Regions from separate parts of the Homo sapiens genome. Here region 1 is linked to region 2. The links are contacts of gene promoters, found by promoter capture Hi-C in blood cells and fetal thymus (Javierre and others, 2016). All regions are on one chromosome and are shown on one strand. Each heading gives the region's core, a stretch centred on a gene start or on the middle of the fragment in contact. The rest is flanking DNA. Distances are from core to core; before and after follow the strand shown. Region 1 has its middle 290 kb from the start of LINC02377. Region 2 holds the start of PCDH10 (protocadherin 10).

Region 1 (5,886 bases), core at 203-2,702, 2.1 Mb before region 2:
ATTTCCTTTTATCCAGAGTTGGTCAGCCTTTGGTAGGGAAAAGTTGAGAAGGGATTTTACTTTTTCCAACTTTGAAAAAACTTTAGGATTTTTGTGTATCCTGCTTAGACAAGTCCTGTAGCACTTGAGCTCTCCCTCTCTAGCCACTGTCACCAGTTGGCGATGAACAACATCTATCTGTCTAGTATTGGAGGCTTGTCTGCTGCTATAGCAATGTCTTTGTTACATAGGAGTGCAAAGTCATAGCTCTTTTAATTCACTTTGCATACGTAAACACGACTGAATGGAATATGAACTTTAAGTTAGAGTGGCAGAGTCCAGAAAGGTTTCCAGTCTAGCTGCTCCATCACAAACACATAGCTCCTTTGGGTGTGTTGACGTTAATTTACCAACCCATTTCCCTCTTTCCATGACTTCTGTTTTCAAATTTTGATTAGTGTAAACTTGTCCCAATCAGATAGGTAATGATGATAATTTCCTCAAAGGATATCTAAGAATTCTCATTAACAACCCATAGCCTCACACTAAGATCTTAAAATAAGGATCCAAGACCGAGAAAGCCTTCAAACCCCAATGTTCTGTCAAGCACTTTTCCTAGTCAATGGGAATTGTATTTTCCCATTAGGAAGGGCAAATAACCTGCTCTTCCTCACTTATGAGAGTAGAAGTAGGGGGTATATTTATGTACATTTTCTTCATTTAGCATCCTGTTACTAAAAACCACTAAATATTTCAATAGAAAAAGAGGAGAACATTTTTTTCAGAAGGACTTCTAACATATGTATATAGCCTGCATTCAAAGTGGTTAACCAGCGGGCGCGGTGGCTCACGCCTGTAATCCCAGCACTTTGGGAGGCCAAGACAGGCAGATCACCTGAGGTCAGGAGTTCAAGACCATCCTGGTCAATATGGTGAAACCCCGTCTCTACTAAAAATACAAAAATTAACCGGGCGTGGTGGCACACACCTGTAATCACAGCTACTTGCGAGGCTGAGGAAGGAGAATTGCTGGAACCCAGGAGGTGGAGGTTGCAGTAAGCTGAGATTGGGCCACTGCACTCCAGCCTGGGTGACAGAGCCAGACTTCGTCTCGAAAAAAGAAAAAAAAAAGGAAGCTTAACCATTTAAATTCTAACTGTCCAAATACAGTTCTCTCTTGCTCTCTTTAGGAAGCCTCTGCTTCAGCAGACATTAAATACAGGTGCTTTTCACCTTATTGTAAAACATCGTGAACAGTAAACATGCTTTTGTGTCTATATTATTTTATCATACATTCTTTTTAATTATCCTTCTCCAAATAGCCATTTTGCTGAGTCTTGTTTACCTTTTTAAAACGATGTTTTACATTCCTAATAATGCATGCTAATCCCATTAAATTCAATGTAGTAAATACGGCATAACGATATTGTGATGCATAAGCCCAGTTACAGTTAAGACATTAACTCTTGCAGATTGCTTGCTTGTAGTGCTTTAAAATATCTGCAACATTCAGCAAATTTGCTAGTACAATATAATTTGTTAATAAGCCTTCCATATTGAAAGAAAAAATAGGGTATTATAATTTTGAATATCACCCATTTACCATACAAAGGATTTTTTAAAAACACCTACTTTCCAAATACAGATTATTTTTATTTAAAAATGTGTTTTCTTGCACCATATACTTAATAACTATTAAAAGACATTTGCATTGTCAATAGATGGCAGCATAGCTCTTTAAGAGTTCATGGGGAACTACTTAACAGTTTAAGATCATAGCCATTAGCCATGCTAAAAATGGTAATCTTAATAAAGCTTTCTCATTGAACTTTTCTTAATACTTCATTGCATTGATGCCACATATTTCCAAAAAGAAAACTGAAAAGAATATGTAAACTGTAAATATTTTATGGTTCAGTTTTAGTTTTTTTTTTTTATTTAAGGTTATATAATTTTGGTGTTGGGGGCTGTCAGGTGAAGGAAAACACTGTTGACACATTAATGTATGAATCTTTCACTTTACTATTAGACTTTGAAGTATTAATTTGACATATAATATGTGAAGTTTTAATAATTTATCAATAATGTCTCAATTTAAAGAACACTTTTAACCAACATTTTAATAAATTGTTATAAAGAAAAAAATATTTGACCATCAATCTCTCTTTTCTAGAAATATAAAGATTTAATTCATGAGAGTAGAATCTCTTTAAACACTTTAGTGAATCTGCCTTCGGGGAAGATCCTAAAGAAAGCAAGACATACTTTCAAATCTCTTCCATAAAATCACACATGGATCAGATAACTCTTTGGGAAAAATAGTGTTCTTTCTGGACTATTTGAATTCTATTTAGATGGTCTGAGATGCCTCTAAAGTTGAAGTTGGTAGAGCTACAATATTCCTACAGAAATAAATGCTGGCCATAAAGATATAATGTGCTGACAGACATAAAAAGAGAAATCCAGGAGGCACAGTAATTTGTCTTAATTGACAAAGGTTTCTGCCCAGGAGCTATCACTATAAAATATAAAAGAGCATCAATCACATAGTGCAAATAAGCAGGTTATAGCCTTACGGTTAGTTTTAATAATTCTGAGCAATTCAAATTATAGCATTGCTTTATTAATATTACTAAAGTAATCTTTGTCAGTATTAAAGACTCCTGAAATTTTTCTAATTTTTTGTTTTCTTACACTTTCTTATTCTTCAAACAGAGAAAAACCCAAATTTATGAGCTCTGTTCTGTTTCACTAAGTCTGTGACAGAGATTTTCCTACAGCATGTATTCACATCTGTATGTAATGTGTGCAAGGGGGAAAAACACTTTTTTCTTCAAAAATCCCTCCTTAACAACTGTTTTCAAATAACGACCACTGTGTTTAGTAGGTTATTCTAAGTAGATGATTTTATCTATTCATTTATAGGTTATTAATATGTTTATTTTATATCTATTTGAGTGAACATTTACTATGTTTTAGGTGCAGTGGTATCCATGGTATTTCATAGGTAGGGTAGAAGTCTCTTCCTTTTCTTCACACTCAGTAGTAAAGAGAGGCACATGAACAGGTGTTGCTATCCCCATGGAAACACAGACACAAGATATAGGAGTCACTCTTCTGACTCACCTTTACATAATCTTCTTCCAAGAACATCAAAGATCTATATTTCCTTTGTAGAACAGATTGACCGATGCCCAAGGCATATTGTATGTGCTACACTCGAGTTTATACTCCTACCAGTTTACTTGCATGTTTGCTAAGAATCAGTTGTGTTTGTTCCAAAGCCTATTTATGACAGTCAAACTTGATGTTATAATTATATAATTTGATTATTGAAAAAAAGTGAGCAAAAAGAGAGTTGCTGTTTTTTTATTATTATTATACTTTAAGTTTTAGAGTACATGTGCACAATGTGCAAGTTTGTTACATATGTATACATGTGCCATGTTGGTGTGCTGCACCCATTAACTTGTCATTTAGCATTAGGTATATCTCCTAATGCTATCCCTCCCCTCTCCCCCTACCCCACAACAGTCCCCAGTGTGTGATGTTACCCTTCCTGTGTCCATGTGTTCTCATAGTTCAAAAATTAAAGTATAACTAAGTTTTTGCAGAGACTAAAAAGGCAAGTTGGTTAAAAATACTTGTCTTAGTAGAAACAGTAATGTTAACTATAATTATTTTAAAATGGTAGAAATATATAGTTTTTTAAAACAGAAAAAATCTAGAAACATCTTTAATATGCATTTTTTTACACCTTAAGTTCTTACCTTTTTAAAAAAAGTAATTGAAATTATAGTTAGAACATATTTTTAGTGTTTTATGTAGACAAGGTGATGGTAAATTCTGAGAAGACTACCCATACAAAAAGAAAATGCCGTGACCTGTATAAAAGATAAAAATACAGCTATAGAGATTAATAAATGAATATAATTTATAATTTATCAGTTACTAGTAATAACTTACCAAGTGATTGATAAAGTACTACATCAGTTTATAAGGGCTTCTGTAGCCAGCCACCATAAACTGGCTTGCTTAAAATAACAGAAATGCATTCTTTCACAAATTGTGAGGCTAAAAATTTAAAATTAAGGTGTCAGCAGAGTTGTGTCAACTCTACAGGTTGAGGGAGGATGGGTTACATGTTTTTCCCCTAATTATCGTTTGACTTCATGTTTTGACTTTGTTTGGCTTCAAGTTGCTTCACTCCAATCTCAGCCTCTATGTTTACATGGCCGTCTCCCCCTGTGTCTATCCAAATTTCCTTGTTCTGTAAAGACATCATTCATTGGATAAGGACCTATATTAATCCAGTAGGATCTCATTTTAACTCGATTACTTCTGCAAAGACTCTATCTCCAAATAATGTCAGATTCTCAGGTTCCAGGTGAGCATTAATTTTTTTAGAACAATAGTCAACAGAGTACAAGGTATCAAGTATGTTTTAGTTTAAAACTTTTAATGTATTTGTATATAATTTTTATGAACCCTTTTTTACCATCCTTCCAGTGTAACTCATTGGTTGCGAGGAGTGAAAGGTCTACCCATAATTGTGAAAACACAGAGGTGATACTCTCTACATTTGTCAGGAAAGAGCAAAGAAGAACTGGAAAATAATTTTATTTTTGATGTATTTTTTCCAAAACAAAGGTGCTTGTATATAAAACCTAGAGTGGGGAAACAAATCTAATACTCCATATCTTGTCCATTCTCAATCACATAAACTATTTTAAACAGTATACTTAGAGAATCCAAACTGCTACTGAAGATGAAGGGAATACTTAGGAAATTTAGAATCCTAATAATTTATCAGGGATTGCTCTTTGATACTGTAGATGTCCAAATAGTTAGTAAATTATAGTTAATAGCAAAACAATTATATGTAATTTCATAGGACATCTGATGTCTTTAACTGGCATACCTAGTTTTTAGTTTATTTGTTTATTTAAATATTACAATAGGTCTGCTCCTATGTCTACATAATGGTAACACCTTCTAGTAAAAATAAACAGAAGAAGCATTTAATTAGAAAAATGCTTATTTAGTGAGCAAAATGGTAATAGTGCCCAATCTGATAATGTTTACAGGCTACAGAGGGAGCTAAAAATTAAAAATAATTATAGATAAATTATAATTTTAATATTGCTCTAAGGTCAATTCAAGCGTCCAGTTAACTATCTACACTACAATTAATTTAGATATTTAAGGTATTACTAATTATGTGATTTGAGTTTAGGAATGTCTCATTTTTATCATATCTAAGATAGAAAATAGTAAAGGAAAATAACAAAAGTGCCCAACTTTCTTAAATACACTATTATACAGCATTAACTTTAACTTTGCATTTATAAATGGTGAAAGAAATCGGGCAGGGCATGGTGGCTCACACTTGTAATCCCAGCACTTTAGGAAGCCGAGGCGGAAGGATCACAAGGTCAGGAGATCAAGACTATCCTGGCTAACATGGTGAAACCCCATCCCTACTAAATATACAAAAAAATTAGCTGGGCCTGGTGGCGGGCACCTGTAGTCCCAGCTAATTGGGAGGCTGAGGCAGGAGAATTGTGTGAACCCGGGAGGCGGAGCTTGCAGTGAGGTGAGATCAGGCCACTGCACTCCAGCCTGGGCAACAGAGCGAGACTGTCTCAAAAAAAAAAAAAAAAAAAACTGCCTAGTCCTCTAACTGTGACAAATAATTGAAAATAACATTAAATGTCTTGTATTTAGTGCCCTGCAACTTAGGCAAATCTAAATATTTCCACTGTAACTGATTTACACTTTTGTCATTAATGTAAAATTTTTAAAGACACTCAACCTTTTAAATTAAAAACTTATTTAATATAGCTAACTTGTATAAATATTCAAAATGTTAAGATTTTTTTTAGTACAATTAAAATTAAACTTAGG
Region 2 (6,598 bases), core at 865-3,364:
GAACGCATTAGAAAATTACCGTCATTTTTTAAAAGGCTCCAGGATTCTGACGAGTCAGCTTGAAGAGCTCAAAACATTTCATTTCAATTCTGCAGATCTGAAGAAAAAGAAAGGGGGGAGGGGTGGAAGTACAGATGCAATACCGTATTAATATTCAGATACACTATAATCTCCTTTTCATTGATCCACAGGTCCCTTTATACACTGCCGCTCCATTCTCAGCCGCAGACGTGATGCTAAAATCATTTTAACTGCAGCGGTTTTCGCTTGGCTTTGGCCAGTCTTCAATTTACTGCAGCTGGAAAAGGATTAGCCATTTTTGCTGGAATCCTTTCCTTCTAAGCGCTCAAAGGCAGGACCCATCTTCATGAAAGAGCCAAGTGCGGGGGCCGGGGGGACCCGGCGTTGCGGGGAGTTGGGGCGCGGAAATCAGGGCAGTAGACGTGCATTCGCGGGACTCTCAGAAGCACGTCTCAGGCTACTATCACGCCCATGGACACTAGCCCTCCTTAACTCCTTGCCAGGAGGAAATGGCAACGTATCTCCAGGTCGGAAAACGACTCTACTTTTCCCGCAGGTTGTGGTGGTGTATTCTTGGGTCATTCATTACCAGAAAGCAGCAAAGGACCTTCCTATCTCTTTGCATAAAAAGGAGATTGAATAGGGGCTTCTTTCGTGAATAAACAACCAATTCCTTGCTAGTGGCCCATTAATTAAAAATATATATTTATAGATCTTTCCTTAGAGAACTGGCATTCTATCCACTCTCCAGCATTAAAGAGTTCGCGCTGTGTTTTAACTTCACAAGAACTAGCTATGTGGATGTGCCGCGTTGCCCCTGCGCCTCCGGAAGGGGCACTCACAGCTGGTCAAGCGCGTCCTTCGGAACTCGGGGAGGCTCCGTTGGGGCTTACACAGAGCTAAGCCCTGGGCCAGGGAGGATGGATGCAAGTACCGTGCATGTGCAAACGTGTTCGCAGATACCCGCAGCGGTGCACACTCGGGCCCCTCGTGTGCACGGGCCCTGCCCACCACCCCGCCCGCGTTCGCCGCCGCCCCACTGTCCTCATCCCGCGGGCTGACCCCAGGATTGGCAGAAATCAGTGGTCTAATCTAGCATGGTGGGTAAAGGGATCGATCTCCAATTGCCAAAAAAAAAATAGAAAATAGCCGGTGTTCCCAGCCGCTGCGTGGCACTTGGCCGCACAAGGCGCAGGGATATCAGAGGCGCTTTGCAGCGCTTGGCGGTGCTGTGTGCCGGATGCCCCAGAGCCCGGCGTTAGGATGGCGGGCTTGTAGGAAGCGGCTCAAATCAACTCCTCAGTCACTGATGAACGCGCTCACGGCTCGAAGCTAGGTCCTCGAGTGAGTTAATCTACTTGGTAAGTATTTTGTGAATATGTATTTTGGGAGGAAAGAAGCACGTCGAACGCGTCTGCCCGTCTGTAAGCGCTGTCATCCCCACATCCTTTAGCGTGAATTCCTCCGCTTTTTAGGAGTCACCTCCACCCCCTACTCCGTATGCTTCGCGCCTTTCCTCACGGCCCCGTCAGACCCCCTCACCTTTAGATTGACACATGCCATATAATACTCACTTTTAAAATGCCCTGCCAGTCTCTGCTAGGGTCCCTTAATTAGGTAACCCTTGCCAATTAGTGGGCCCTGCGCTACTTTTTCCCTTCTCGATGATTTATTTCCATGATGCGTATTAGGGAAAATACCTTAAAGGAAAAAGAATGTTAGCATCATTGGAAATCCCGCTCCTAGGAGAGGATATCGCAGCTGTTGCTATTATGTTTTCGCATTTGCTGATGCAAACAGGGGAACCTCTCTATTCCCTCCCCATTACCTGCGGCTGGGGACTGGGAACTTTCCGCGGCATTGTCCCCAGCCAGCGCCTCGGGACCTGCGGGGCTGTTCTCGCTCTCACACTCACACTCACCCCGGCCGCTCGGGCGAGAGTTCTGTCCCGCCCCGCCCGGCTGCCGCGTGACGTGTCTGTTTGGCGGCCAGTTTGGCCAATCATCGGCAGCTCGGTGGGTGGTGCTCCTGGGCGATTGGTTGGCAGAATGAGGGCGCTGCGCAAAAACGGAGAAGCCGAGCGCTCGGAGCTCAGAAACTGCCAGCCCAGACCACAGGCTCAGAGGCTGAAGCAGGAGGAAGGAAGGACTGGAAGGAAAAAGAGACAGGTTAGAGGGAAAGAGGCTTGGGAAGAAAACAGCAGAAAAGAAACTGCTCATTACACTTACAGAGAGGCAAGTAACGGTGGAGATGAGGACAGAGGGAACCAAGACTCTGAAAGACAAAAAATACAAATAGAGCGAAAGAGGAAAAAAATGTCAAGAAGAACATCCATCCGGAGAAATGAAGAGAATGAAAGTTTTAAGCTGCAGAGCCGTTCTGTGCTTTTCCGGCACAAAATTATATCGCTGATTTTAAGCCCTTTTGCATTTGCCAGCCGTTGACATTAAGAGGCATGTTTAACGGTGCCAACAGCATCTCCTTTTCCTTCTCCTCTTCCTCTTCTTCTTCTTCCTCCTCCTCCTCCTCTTTTTCCTCCTCCTCGTTCTCCTCCCATCAGCAAGAAGACAAACCGAGGACAGTCTTGAAATATCGAAATTTCCTCTTTGGGATTTGCCAGCGCCAAGACTGTCGGAATAAAGGACGCTGACTATTGTATTATTGTTATTTTATTAATTAGTCAGTGGAAAGATTACAGATGAGGAAAGGGGACGCCTGTCACCCTTCCTGTGCTAAGATTTAAAAAAAAATGAGGCTGGATTGCGGGAAGCTCTAAAATGAAGCAAAAGGAGTAAGATTTTTAAAGACAGAAAGCCACAGGAGCCCCCACGTAGCGCACTTTTATTTGTATTTTTTCAGATTTTTTTTTGTTTCGTGGTGGTGGGGGAGGTGATTGGGTGGCTGACTGGCTGCGGGAAGCTACTTCCTTTCCTTTTGGAGATGATTGTGCTATTATTGTTTGCCTTGCTCTGGATGGTGGAAGGAGTCTTTTCCCAGCTTCACTACACGGTACAGGAGGAGCAGGAACATGGCACTTTCGTGGGGAATATCGCTGAAGATCTGGGTCTGGACATTACAAAACTTTCGGCTCGCGGGTTTCAGACGGTGCCCAACTCAAGGACCCCTTACTTAGACCTCAACCTGGAGACAGGGGTGCTGTACGTGAACGAGAAAATAGACCGCGAACAAATCTGCAAACAGAGCCCCTCCTGTGTCCTGCACCTGGAGGTCTTTCTGGAGAACCCCCTGGAGCTGTTCCAGGTGGAGATCGAGGTGCTGGACATTAATGACAACCCCCCCTCTTTCCCGGAGCCAGACCTGACGGTGGAAATCTCTGAGAGCGCCACGCCAGGCACTCGCTTCCCCTTGGAGAGCGCATTCGACCCAGACGTGGGCACCAACTCCTTGCGCGACTACGAGATCACCCCCAACAGCTACTTCTCCCTGGACGTGCAGACCCAGGGGGATGGCAACCGATTCGCTGAGCTGGTGCTGGAGAAGCCACTGGACCGAGAGCAGCAAGCGGTGCACCGCTACGTGCTGACCGCGGTGGACGGAGGAGGTGGGGGAGGAGTAGGAGAAGGAGGGGGAGGTGGCGGGGGAGCAGGCCTGCCCCCCCAGCAGCAGCGCACCGGCACGGCCCTACTCACCATCCGAGTGCTGGACTCCAATGACAATGTGCCCGCTTTCGACCAACCCGTCTACACTGTGTCCCTACCAGAGAACTCTCCCCCAGGCACTCTCGTGATCCAGCTCAACGCCACCGACCCGGACGAGGGCCAGAACGGTGAGGTCGTGTACTCCTTCAGCAGCCACATTTCGCCCCGGGCGCGGGAGCTTTTCGGACTCTCGCCGCGCACTGGCAGACTGGAGGTAAGCGGCGAGTTGGACTATGAAGAGAGCCCAGTGTACCAAGTGTACGTGCAAGCCAAGGACCTGGGCCCCAACGCCGTGCCTGCGCACTGCAAGGTGCTAGTGCGAGTACTGGATGCTAATGACAACGCGCCAGAGATCAGCTTCAGCACCGTGAAGGAAGCGGTGAGTGAGGGCGCGGCGCCCGGCACTGTGGTGGCCCTTTTCAGCGTGACTGACCGCGACTCAGAGGAGAATGGGCAGGTGCAGTGCGAGCTACTGGGAGACGTGCCTTTCCGCCTCAAGTCTTCCTTTAAGAATTACTACACCATCGTTACCGAAGCCCCCCTGGACCGAGAGGCGGGGGACTCCTACACCCTGACTGTAGTGGCTCGGGACCGGGGCGAGCCTGCGCTCTCCACCAGTAAGTCGATCCAGGTACAAGTGTCGGATGTGAACGACAACGCGCCGCGTTTCAGCCAGCCGGTCTACGACGTGTATGTGACTGAAAACAACGTGCCTGGCGCCTACATCTACGCGGTGAGCGCCACCGACCGGGATGAGGGCGCCAACGCCCAGCTTGCCTACTCTATCCTCGAGTGCCAGATCCAGGGCATGAGCGTCTTCACCTACGTTTCTATCAACTCTGAGAACGGCTACTTGTACGCCCTGCGCTCCTTCGACTATGAGCAGCTGAAGGACTTCAGTTTTCAGGTGGAAGCCCGGGACGCTGGCAGCCCCCAGGCGCTGGCTGGTAACGCCACTGTCAACATCCTCATAGTGGATCAAAATGACAACGCCCCTGCCATCGTGGCGCCTCTACCAGGGCGCAACGGGACTCCAGCGCGTGAGGTGCTGCCCCGCTCGGCGGAGCCGGGTTACCTGCTCACCCGCGTGGCCGCCGTGGACGCGGACGACGGCGAGAACGCCCGGCTCACTTACAGCATCGTGCGTGGCAACGAAATGAACCTCTTTCGCATGGACTGGCGCACCGGGGAGCTGCGCACAGCACGCCGAGTCCCGGCCAAGCGCGACCCCCAGCGGCCTTATGAGCTGGTGATCGAGGTGCGCGACCATGGGCAGCCGCCCCTTTCCTCCACCGCCACCCTGGTGGTTCAGCTGGTGGATGGCGCCGTGGAGCCCCAGGGCGGGGGCGGGAGCGGAGGCGGAGGGTCAGGAGAGCACCAGCGCCCCAGTCGCTCTGGCGGCGGGGAAACCTCGCTAGACCTCACCCTCATCCTCATCATCGCGTTGGGCTCGGTGTCCTTCATCTTCCTGCTGGCCATGATCGTGCTGGCCGTGCGTTGCCAAAAAGAGAAGAAGCTCAACATCTATACTTGTCTGGCCAGCGATTGCTGCCTCTGCTGCTGCTGCTGCGGTGGCGGAGGTTCGACCTGCTGTGGCCGCCAAGCCCGGGCGCGCAAGAAGAAACTCAGCAAGTCAGACATCATGCTGGTGCAGAGCTCCAATGTACCCAGTAACCCGGCCCAGGTGCCGATAGAGGAGTCCGGGGGCTTTGGCTCCCACCACCACAACCAGAATTACTGCTATCAGGTATGCCTGACCCCTGAGTCCGCCAAGACCGACCTGATGTTTCTTAAGCCCTGCAGCCCTTCGCGGAGTACGGACACTGAGCACAACCCCTGCGGGGCCATCGTCACCGGTTACACCGACCAGCAGCCTGATATCATCTCCAACGGAAGCATTTTGTCCAACGAGGTAAGGCTGAAGCGAAAGGACCACCATCTCTCATCTCCTCCATCAGAAAGCCTCCTCTAGCCCGGCCCTTGTATCTCTGGTGCACTGTATCTATTTTTAGGATATTAGCTTATGTGTATCGTTGTGGGAGCAGAGATGGGCGGTCACCTTCTCCCACTCCTTCGTGTGTAACCTAACTTTCGCGTTGTTCCACCCTTTCACATTTATTTTCATTCCGTCCCCTTGGTACTTTGCCACCTTGGAGCTCCCTCCTTTGCTCTTCCATCCTGTCAGTCCTTTCCCTTCTCAGTAACCTGGGCATGAAGGGAAACTGCGTGAAGGGAGAGGGAAATGTGGAGGAGGGACTTACTTTCTAGCACTGGCAAAGGTCTTTTTTCTTTGCGTCTGTCCCAGGCATTAATAAAGTTGGCTCTATTTTGCTTTGTTTAACGATGCTTTTAGTCGCGTGTACAAGTAAGCTATAGATTGTTTAACTTTACACAGTTGTCTAACCTCGAATTCATGTTTTAGTGAACAAGTTACCAGATCCTTCTCCTCTGAACTCGGGTTGCAAAAAAAGCCTTCAGTTCGGCTCTGGACAGCATTTACAGACGCTCTTGAAGCCGAGCGCCCACACAGTGTGAATTTGAATGAAGCTGCGTTGGCACAAACCCCTGTTAAGAGTAAACTAACGAAAGGCTTAAACAATTGTTGTCTTAAATATATCTTTTTAGCTAATAATCACCTTCTTGCCACTGTTTTGGATAAATCACGCTGTTGGCTTTCTTCATAAAAGAATTTGGCTTGTCAATTCTGACTTCTTTTTAAAAGGATGGAGAAGTGACAAAGTCGGAGGGTGGGGGTTGGGGGGAGAACAAAGTTGGTTTATGTGAAAGAAAGCTTGGACCGGAAAGGTGTGTGGGTGGTAGAGGTGGGGAGGCGAATGCAGAGGGCCTTTGGAGGGGAAAAGAATGGGGGTGGTGGGGGGCGGGCAGGATTATGAACTCCTTTCCTGGCAGGTTATTTT

Evidence for each region. Contacts are between HindIII fragments. The CHiCAGO score rates a contact against its expected background, and 5 or more counts as called.
Region 1: a fragment that was not itself captured here is called in contact with the fragment with the promoter of PCDH10 in region 2 in 2 of 17 cell types (fetal thymus and M0 macrophages); the score reaches 8.8 in fetal thymus.

The regions. Positions count from the first base shown.
Region 1 is chr4:131,090,400-131,096,285 of GRCh38, forward strand. No RefSeq gene overlaps it. Among named protein-coding and RNA genes, the nearest start is that of LINC02377, 290 kb to the right of the region's middle. The HindIII fragment of the contact is 679 bases long and covers 1,114-1,792 here.
Region 2 is chr4:133,147,180-133,153,777 of GRCh38, forward strand. PCDH10 (protocadherin 10) reads left to right here and starts at 2,115. Exons shown (of 5, transcript NM_032961.3): 1 at 2,115-5,592. The coding sequence starts at 2,962. It overlaps PCDH10-DT (PCDH10 divergent transcript), which reads right to left and starts at 1,937. Exons shown (of 9, transcript NR_125885.1): 1 at 1,850-1,937; 2 at 20-97. RefSeq lists an enhancer at 1,859-1,918 and a silencer at 2,029-2,168. The HindIII fragment of the contact is 9,721 bases long and covers 1-6,469 here.